Linked DNA regions of Homo sapiens: region 1 is linked to region 2. The links are contacts of gene promoters, found by promoter capture Hi-C in blood cells and fetal thymus (Javierre and others, 2016). All regions are on one chromosome and are shown on one strand. The core of a region is centred on a gene start or on the middle of the fragment in contact, and the rest is flanking DNA. Distances in the headings are between cores, read along the strand shown.

Region 1 (4,560 bases), core at 1,789-4,288, 2.2 Mb after region 2:
GTCATCACAACTGCCTTCAAGGCAGGAAGGAAAGGGAAGGAACCAGAAACCGCCAGTTTGTTTCTCAAGCACAGCACTTTTCTCAGGAAGTAAAATATCTAACCAGAAGCCATCCTCCTCCCTCATTGGGCAGAATGAAGTTACTTGGCCACCCCGTAGCTGTGGGAGAAGCTGTGAGAGTCGTTGACTTTCCAGTTTCTCCAGTGGGAAGCAGCAAGGGAGAAGGAGTCTCTGAATGGCTGCTGGGTTAGTGTCTTCCATGCCTGCCTGGCCTTGAACTAATCATGGCCAGAGCCATGGAGTCTCTAATTGGTTTGCTCCTAAGTCAAAGGGTAGGGCCAGCACCACACAAACTCTATGAATTGAGCAGAATTTGGGAGGTAACATCTGGTCAGGTTGTTTGCCCAAAGCAAGGGTGCATTAGAAGGTATAAAAATATCTGACCATACAAGAGTTGCAGAGTGTTCCATTGCATGGATAAACTCACAATTCTTTTAATTTGGCAACTTTAGTTCCAAGACAAGAGGATGGGAGGATAGGTGTGGGTAATAGTTTAAACACAGATGTGGAGTAGGAGGAGTACAGGGAGTCAGGAGGTTAGGGCTAGAGAGCATTTCAGTATGGTTAGAGAGTGGGCTGTAAGGAGGGTTAGGAGGAAATAAGGGGTAAGTAATAACAGCTGGCTGTGAATGCCATGCTATGCTAATATTTCATTTAATAGTCACAACAGCCACACGAGGGCAGTATTACTTAATTTCCACTCAATTCTTATGTTTCAGGTAAGAAAACTGAGACCTGGAGAAGTTGAGTCATTTGCTTGAATTACTCACTAAATAACCAGAAATTAGCCAGACCAGAATTGAAATGCAGGTCTTTCCGATTAGTCCCCACGCTGATCCAAGAGCCTCCAGGCTTCGCAGAGACCCTGCACTGGTTCCCTGCAGAAGGGGTAACTCAGGGGAAATGGGCTTAGTCACCAGAAGTCAGTCACTCTCCTCCTGGAAAGGTCTGGATGCAGATGCTGCAGACCTGGCCCATGTTATCAGACGTGATCGGAGATTGGAGTTGGAGCTTCATTGTGAAACATCTGCAGTCCTCAAGCTGAGACAACATTTCTGGCTGGGGGCGGTGGCTCATGCCTGTAATCCCAGCACTTTAGGAGGCCAAGGCGGGCAGATCACCTGAGGTCAGGAGTTCACGACTAGCCTGGCCAGCATGGTGAAACCCCATCTCTATTAAAAGTACAAAAATTAGCTGGGCATGGTGGTGGGCATCTGTAATCCCAGCTACCCGGGAGGCTGAGGCAGGAGAACTGCTTGAACCCGGGAGGCGGAGGTTGCAGTGAGCAGAGATCACACCACTGTACTCCAGCCTGGGCAACAGAGCGAGACTCCATCTCAAAAAAAAAAAAAAAAAGATTTCTGACTGAATTTAAAAATAAACAAAAACTACACCAACACCGAGCCATTCACAGCCTCTCAGGATTTGGAAAACAAAACAAAACAAAACAAAATAACACTGAGGCAAAGAGCAAGTCCCCCACACTGTAAAGGTATCAGCTCCACCATCTGGTCTCATCAGGGCCTCACCAGATGAAGCCTACCCCTAGCAAGCTGGTCTGGAGCTGCAGTTGGGCCCAAGGGCTGGGTGAGCGCCTGGGGCTGTCCACAGTGAGCAGATTCAGCAGAATTGCAGAACGTGGCCACCCGGCTGACTGAGGAAGGCCCTGTCCCGTGGGCATAAAGCCAGGATTCCTTTGGCCTTTTGCTGCTGGAGGAAAACTAGGCTGATTCAGAAGGTCTCACCACTGCTCCCTAGCACTGACTAAAGTCCGGGATGTCAGACTATGAGGTCATATATCACAAGTCTCTGTACGCCTTTGATCCCCAGTTTCCACATCAATAAAATGGCGGTAATCATATCTGACGATTGGGCGGGATTCTATGAAATAATGCGCACAAAGCTCTGGCAAAACCCTATGTAATGGAAGATGTTACTGATGACCAGCACTCAAGTCCTTCCTCCAGCCTCCGCATGGAAAGTTCCCAAGTGTCCCTAGAAGTCTGGAACACTCTAATGTTGACTGGAAAGAATAAGATGGATCTCTTTTTCTGATATGGAAGCGTCCCAAATCCAGTCATACCAGCTGGGAGGCAGTGCCCGCTAGCGGTAAAAAGCATGGATTTTGGATTTGGACAGATCCCCCTGAATTGAAGGCACAAGGGAAACCACTTGTGCCTCTGGCCAAGTTAATTTTTCTCTCCAAGCGTCAGTTTCTCCACCTGTTAAAAAGTAACGGCAAACCTACCTCACTGGAGCTTAATAAGGATTAAGTGAAATAATGCAGGTCAAATATCCGAGCCTTGATATATATAAGCCTCATGTGTATGTGTTCCCATTTATGTAAAATAACAGTGTAAGCATATTCAAAGAAAGCAATTCAGAATGTACTCTTAAACTAAGCAATGGTTATCTTGGTGTGGGGAGTTGGGGAAACCAGGGGCCTGCCTTTTTCTCTATTATATAATGCTGCAAAGTTTGATCTTTAAAAAAGGACATTAAAAAGCCCAATTGTACTTTAAACAACACAAGTTTTAATACTTGGGTAAATAAATGGCATCTAAACAAAGAAAGAAACTGAAGGCAGAGCCAGGCCCAACCCTAGGAGACTGAGGAAGCGATTCTGCTTTGCCTGCCCCCAGCTCAACCCCTGCACTAAAACCCCCCGGCCCCAGCCCCAAGGTCCAGGGGGTTGTATTCCTGGGGGCGACCCGGCGCCCCTCAAGTCTCCCTCCTCTTGCACACACACACACACAAACCAGACTCGAATCCCCGCCTCCCAAGGGAAAGTGTTTTTTAAGGTCTGTTCCAGGGCCTGCCGGGGCCAGGGACCGAGGTGGGACTGAGTGGCCGGAACTCCTCCACCTGGGAGAGTCGGTCCGGGTAGCTGCGGCCAAGCTGAGTCAGCCCGGCGGGCGGCGCACGCGGCGCCGCGTGACCCGCAGCCACGTGACCCGCGCGGGGCCGGGCCGCCGGCGCAGTCGCTGCAGCCGCCGCGGGAGGCGTCCGTGTAAGTGGGTAGCAGGGCTGGCGGGGACCTTCCTCGCGGGCCGGAGCGCGGAGCGCTGCCCCAGCCCTACGGCACTCGGGGTCGGGACCCCGGGGAGCCGCCCTCACACATTTTCCAGGAGGGATCGGAGGGGCGATGGGGTGGTAATGGGGGTGGGGGACACGCTGTACCCCACCGACGACCGCGCGGGCCACCTTCGCCTCTTTCCTTCACACTCCCACTAACCGCAGTGCTGGGGGAACAAAATGTCCTCCTTCTGGAGCGATTACCTTTTCCCTTTTGTGCTTTGGGGGAAACTGAAGACCCAGAGGGGTTCGCAAAGCAAGGTGGGCCAGTAGGAAGACCCCTCCGCTAGTCCAGAGAGAGCACACAGCTCCCCAGGCAGAGCTCATTGCCCCACCTGCTCTAGTGGCCCAGCATGATCCCATGACCTCTCTACTTCTGGAGGAAGAGTCTTGGGGTAGACGGCGGGGAGGGGGTAGGGTATCCCGTTCCGGTAGGGGCAGGGATGAGGGAGGCGGGGCTGAGCCGAGCATCTATCTGGATGGTAACAGCCAACGTAGAAAATACTAAGTTGTTTACATGCATTCTCTCATTTCATATTACCCGTCGTGAAGTCTGTGAAGTAGGTACTATTGTCCCAATTTTTACATAGGAGGAAACGGCTCAGAGAGAACTTAGGTCCTTTGACCGAGGTCCTGCAGGTGGTAAGTGAAGGAGCTGAGATTAGAACCCAGATCTGCCCCCAGTGGCGCCTCCTCGTGGTCTGTGGGTGGTGGAGACGACTGGCCTAGCCTCTTAGCTCCTCTGTGAATAGAAAGGCCTTTTTCCTGGCTCAGACAGCTTGGGAAGGGGATTGTTGCTGGGTAAGAGAAGCTTCTCCCACCACCTCCATCTCTTTCTCTGCCCCTTACCATTGATTCCTTTCTGTCATCCCCTCTCCCCCACTGCAGGACAAGATGAAGCTCATCATCCTGGAGCACTATTCTCAGGCGAGCGAGTGGGCGGCTAAATACATCAGGAACCGCATCATCCAGTTTAACCCAGGGCCAGAGAAGTACTTCACCCTGGGGCTCCCCACTGGTGCGTTCTTGGATGGAGAGGGTGCCGTGGATAAGGGTGGAGAGAGTAGGCAACAGGGGCCAGGTACACCGGCTCACTCAGCCAAGGGACTTCACGGGGGCTCTGGGGTACTGGTGCTGAGAGAGCACCTTCCTGCCCCTTCCACATACAAAGGACCCAGCTTCCCTTATGGGTTGGTTTAGTCGCTGCCTGTCCCTGCAGAATCCTGGAGCAGAAGGGATCTTGGTTGGCAGGAAGAATTTGATTTTTAGGCTACATCCTAAGTCAGCCCTGTCCACCAGGGTTTCTTAACAGAATTAAGTCCTGATACCCTAAGGCATTCATTTTATGTAATGAATTAATTTCTCTTCTCTGCATCTAGAGGGGTACCAGCTAAGTACCATCCTTGGGAGAATTGAAAAGATAGT
Region 2 (4,786 bases), core at 1,676-4,175:
TCACATTGAACATATGATTTCCTTTCTCTTCTGCCTTAAGTAAGCATTTCTTAGAAATCAAAAATTCATGTCAAGATCATCAAAGCCGACTTGAGACGTCATCAGGATTAACAATCTAGAGTAACAGAAGGGGGCAGTGTTATCACAGTCTCTTGCATCAACCTGAAACCTTGAAGAAGAGAAACTGAAAGTCACCCTGAGTAACACTGTTCACTTACCCAGCATCCTCAACTGAGTCCCAATTTCAATTACTAATTTCTTTCCACTTGTGAAGTCTTAAGCTCCCAAAGTCAGCAATGAGATGCCCCCTTTGGTCCACCAACTTGACATACCCTGCCAAGCCCTATAAGAAACTGATCCCTTCTCACTGTAGCCTCAAGAAATGCAAGCCTGTCTCTACATTTACCTTCATTATTAATTATTCTGCCTTTTACAGCATGAATGGTGAAAGAAATTCACTTGTATTGACCATATAAGAAAAATACTTTATATTTAACATGTTATCAGAAAAGGCCTAAAGTTTATTTGTACTGCTGAAAAAAAAAAAAATGGAAATACGCAGCTCCATGCAGAAGCACTGCCGCAAACACTCACTGTTAGCCTGAGATGCATAGAAAAACAGGGAACTGTCTCGGCTGTTGAGATAATTTAGCAGACAAGTCTAGAGAGAGATAAGTGGAGGCAAAAGCTGGTAAACACCCCCAAAGAGGAGGTGAGATTTCTTAAAGAAATCTGAGGAAGGATAACTCAGCCAGCTGTCTTCAGGGCTTAGGGAGGGAGGATGAGAGGAATGAGAGGAAATATCATGACTAGACAGAGTTGCTATTGCACTTTGAAGGACAGGTGGAACCTAGAAAACAGAAGCTAAAGGTTCTATGTAGAAGGGAAAAGTGGTTGAAAAAATATGTGTGTAAGTGTGTCAGGGGGTATATGGAGGGGAGCAGCAGTTGGGAAAAGAACAGTCAATTATCCAGTTTGGCTGGAGCAAAAGGCACCAGTGAAAGAACAGTGGAGGAGTTTGAACTTAATTCTGTAAACACTAAGTAGTCATTGTGAGTTTTTGAGCAGAAATGACAGAAACAAGTTTCTCAACGACCACCACTTCTACAGAGTAACTCAGAACTCATCTACCCTCTCCCCAGCATCCCTTTGCTCACTTATCAGGGAGGACTTCCACCAATGATTCCCATTCAATGTCCCCACTGACAGGTGTGGCTTTGACATTAAAGCAATAAGAATTTCCGTTTTTACAACAGTATTAAAAAATATTTTCCCTCTATCCCCCAGCCATGAAAGAAAGGGAAATAAAGATAAAAGCTGCTCTATTACCCATTTGGCAAAGTGAAGAATGGTGTACATTGAATGTCGCACATTAACGACAATCAGTGAGGCTCACCTTCAGCAGAGAATGAGAATGTTTTATGTGTGTTGTGGTGTGTGTGTGTCTGTGAGTGCCCATTCACTCATTCATTCAGTAAATGTTTGTTTAGTATGTTCCACATGCTAGGCATTGCCATAGGCAATGGGGATTCCACAATGAACACAAAAGAGCTGAAGCTCCTGCCTTCATAGAGCTCACATTCTAGACAATAAATGAATAAGCATATAGAATGTCAGATGATAATAAATATAGTGGAGAAAAATAAAATAGAATATTAATTACTATGTTACTGGGGAGGGGTATTAATAGCAAAGGGACAGAGGGGACAAGGAAAGAGGTAGGGGAAAAGTGTGTTCTTTAGTAGTTTAAGCTAAAAAAGGCTTTTTCCAGTCAGGTGAACTATAGTAAAGAAAGGAATTTTCATTCAACAATCAATCGTAATATTAATAGATATAATAATAGATACCAATTACTGAATCACTACTACATGACTGTCACTATGCTGAGCATTATTTCATTTATTCTTCACAATAAGCTTTGTTAGTGTGACACTTATAGGCACAAAGGAAAGTGAGGCATCGTAAGAAAGAGAGAGAACGGAAGGAGAGAGAAGCCAAGGTTCAGATAAGTCAAGTAGCTAGCCCAAGTGATCTTACGCAAATGTACAGAACGTGGATTTGAGTGCAGACACTCTGACTCCAAAGCCTGCACTCTTAACCCAGACACTGGGTTGAGGTACAGAGATAAATAAGTCATGGACTCTGCCTTGGAATTGCTCATAGTCTAGTAAGAGAGACAGACTCGTAAACAAATAAATCCAGTGCAGTGATAGGAGCTATAATAGAGGTATAATAGCGTTAAGGAGACACAGAGGAAAGAGTGACTAAGTGCCTGGCTGCGGGTGGGGTGAAGGGTTATCAAAATGCAGACATATTCATTTGTGCTTATGTAATTCATTGCTCTCGCTGGGTCTGGTTACTCACAACGAATCTGCAGTTCCCTCCAAAACCTTTTCCGGTGGATTTCCCCAGTCTGTCTTCACAGGTTGTGGGTTGTCAGCCTCATCCTGAATGCAATAAGTAGTTCTGACACAGAGGCCACATAAACTCTTTAAAGCCACTGTGGAGAAGGAAGGGAAATAACAATATAGCAGTCTACCTTAACTACCTTCATAAAAGGCTAAGGAATATGGCAACCATGTGAATTAAAATGAGATGACCAATATAAGGGAAAAGAGGAAAAATGCTGGCAAACCACCTGAAAAAACTAAAGGGCATGTGTATTGTGATACAAGGTGGCTGACAACAGTTACTCAGAAAGGAAAATTATATTCCGTGAAGGTCCTTATTACCTAGCACGATTTGCTTTAAGCCTCCATTCTTAACCTAGGTCTGCAAACGGGATTCACAAAATTCATGAATTCCCTGAAATTGTATGCAAAACTCTATGTACCTGCTCTACATTTTCTTTTTCTTTTTTCTTTTTTTTTTTTTTTGAGATGGAGTCTCACTCTGTCACCCCGGCTGAAGTGCAGTGGCGCAATCTAGGCTCACTGCAAGCTCCGCCTCCCAGGTTCACGCCATTCTCCTGCCTCAGCCTCCCGAGCAGCTGGGACTACAGGCGCCCGCCACCACACCCGGCTAATTTTGTTACTGTATTTTTAGTAGAGTCGGGGTTTCACCATGTTAGCCAGGATGGTCTCAATCTCCTGACCTCGTGATCCGCCCGCCTCGGCCTCCCAAAGTCCTGGGATTACAGGCGTGACCTGCTCTGCATTTTCTAGAGATCCCAAGAGTTCATCCAAATTTCAAAACAGTACATGTTCTCCAAGTAGGTTAAGAGCTGTGCGTTAAATACTTTCAGAACTGCTACTCCAGTAGATTTAAGTATAAAGAGCCTGGCATATCTTAGAGGGTCCAAAATGTCTAAGTGCATCCTTTGATATCATTGTTATTTATTGCCTTTATCAATGTGTTTGCAAATTACTGGTGCTACTTAGACACCCTACACATGAATATAAGGCCTTACCATGACAACAGGGCTTGCTTTTGATTATGTTGTGTATAGTTGATCTTTTATCTCTCTTTTGGAACTTCTTTGTAGAAAGATTCACTTTTCAAAGAAGCTGTTCACTCAGTATTGATTCTCAACTTTTTGTGGCAGGGGAGGGGAGGTGAGTATTTGATTAGGAATATTACAATGCCCCATTTGGTGTTTTCAAGCTGACCTCTCACCTGACTCTTTTCCACTCCAAACCCCTATTTCATAACTCAAGTTATTTATCTGTTGATACATTTCTCTTCATGTATATTTGGATCACCTTAGGCACAACAGCTTAAATTTTATTTTGGTTAGATGCCTCTTTATTACATTTGATTTATAGTCATTGAAAAAGTTTTGAGGATAGTGGAGAATCTTCCACCTTTTTACTGATGCTGCTCAATGACAAATTTGCCAGAGGTTGAAATGTCCTACCTACTAACCATCAGCCTAGCCACTTTTGGTTAAGCACCCTTTGTGGGTTAAAGAAAAGAGTTAGGATGAGAAAGCTTACCACCAGATGTATCATTCTAAACTCCATCAGGAAATGCATTCTTAAAACTAACTTTGACTATTTTCTCATGTACTTTCTCTTGACAGACATAAGAAAACAGATCTAGGATGAGAATGCGGCCTTAATGATTCCCTACTGCTAAATAACAGTAAATCTGGAAGAGGTACAAAGCTAATATCTATTAGCTTTTTGTAAGTACCAAAGGACAATACACATAGAAGGATCACATTAACAGAAAAATCCAGATGAAATGTAAGATATGGACAATTAATTACCAACCAAAACATTTGCCTAGACTCAACCCCATCAAAGAAGCCTTGCTGTTGTGATAAGAAGCAAGAAACCTATAATGATGGCAGATTATCAGAGCCTCTTGCCAACCCTGGTGAAAAACAACTCCAGATACATAATTTTTCAGTCTACTATGTCTAAGCTAGGCTCAGACAGAAGAGTGCTGTCTACTAGATTAACCACATCCACTTCCGGTGGGGCTGGAGACGTGGTTACTGAAGCAATGGCTTGTGCAAATATTTTTTGATGAAATCACAGCCTGAAGTAGAAGAGCTGCTGGCAAAAATAATCTAAACAAAGATCCTGGCTGGTTTCCAATAAATAGCCTTCTTTCCTCAAACATTTAACACAACCTAAGACATCTGGAACTTGTAGAATCATTTTTCCAGGCAAAAGCAAAAATTTTACAGAATATTTGATTAACAGCAAGACTCTGGGGTACACAAAGAAATCCAGAGATCAACTGCTAAAGAATAAATTTAATAAACAATTAAGCAATTAAGAAGTCTACCTACTGCCAGCCTCAAGTCATTAATGATTCAGTGAAAACAACTCATTTT

Evidence for each region. The method cuts DNA at HindIII sites, captures the fragments that hold promoters and counts their contacts. A CHiCAGO score of 5 or more calls a contact.
Region 1: a contact is called between the fragment with the promoter of GNPDA1 here and a fragment that was not itself captured in region 2, in 1 of 17 cell types (activated CD4 T cells). The highest score is 5.0, in activated CD4 T cells.

The regions. Positions count from the first base shown.
Region 1 is chr5:142,011,505-142,016,064 of GRCh38, reverse strand. GNPDA1 (glucosamine-6-phosphate deaminase 1) reads left to right here and starts at 3,038. Exons shown (of 7, transcript NM_005471.5): 1 at 3,038-3,070; 2 at 4,024-4,153. The coding sequence starts at 4,030. RefSeq lists a cis regulatory region at 1,499-1,771 and silencers at 2,913-3,182, 3,854-3,913. The HindIII fragment of the contact is 4,254 bases long and covers 1-3,948 here.
Region 2 is chr5:144,187,586-144,192,371 of GRCh38, reverse strand. The region is part of intron 2 of KCTD16 (potassium channel tetramerization domain containing 16); the gene reads right to left. Among named protein-coding and RNA genes, the nearest start is that of KCTD16, 19 kb to the right of the region's middle. The HindIII fragment of the contact is 2,014 bases long and covers 1,919-3,932 here.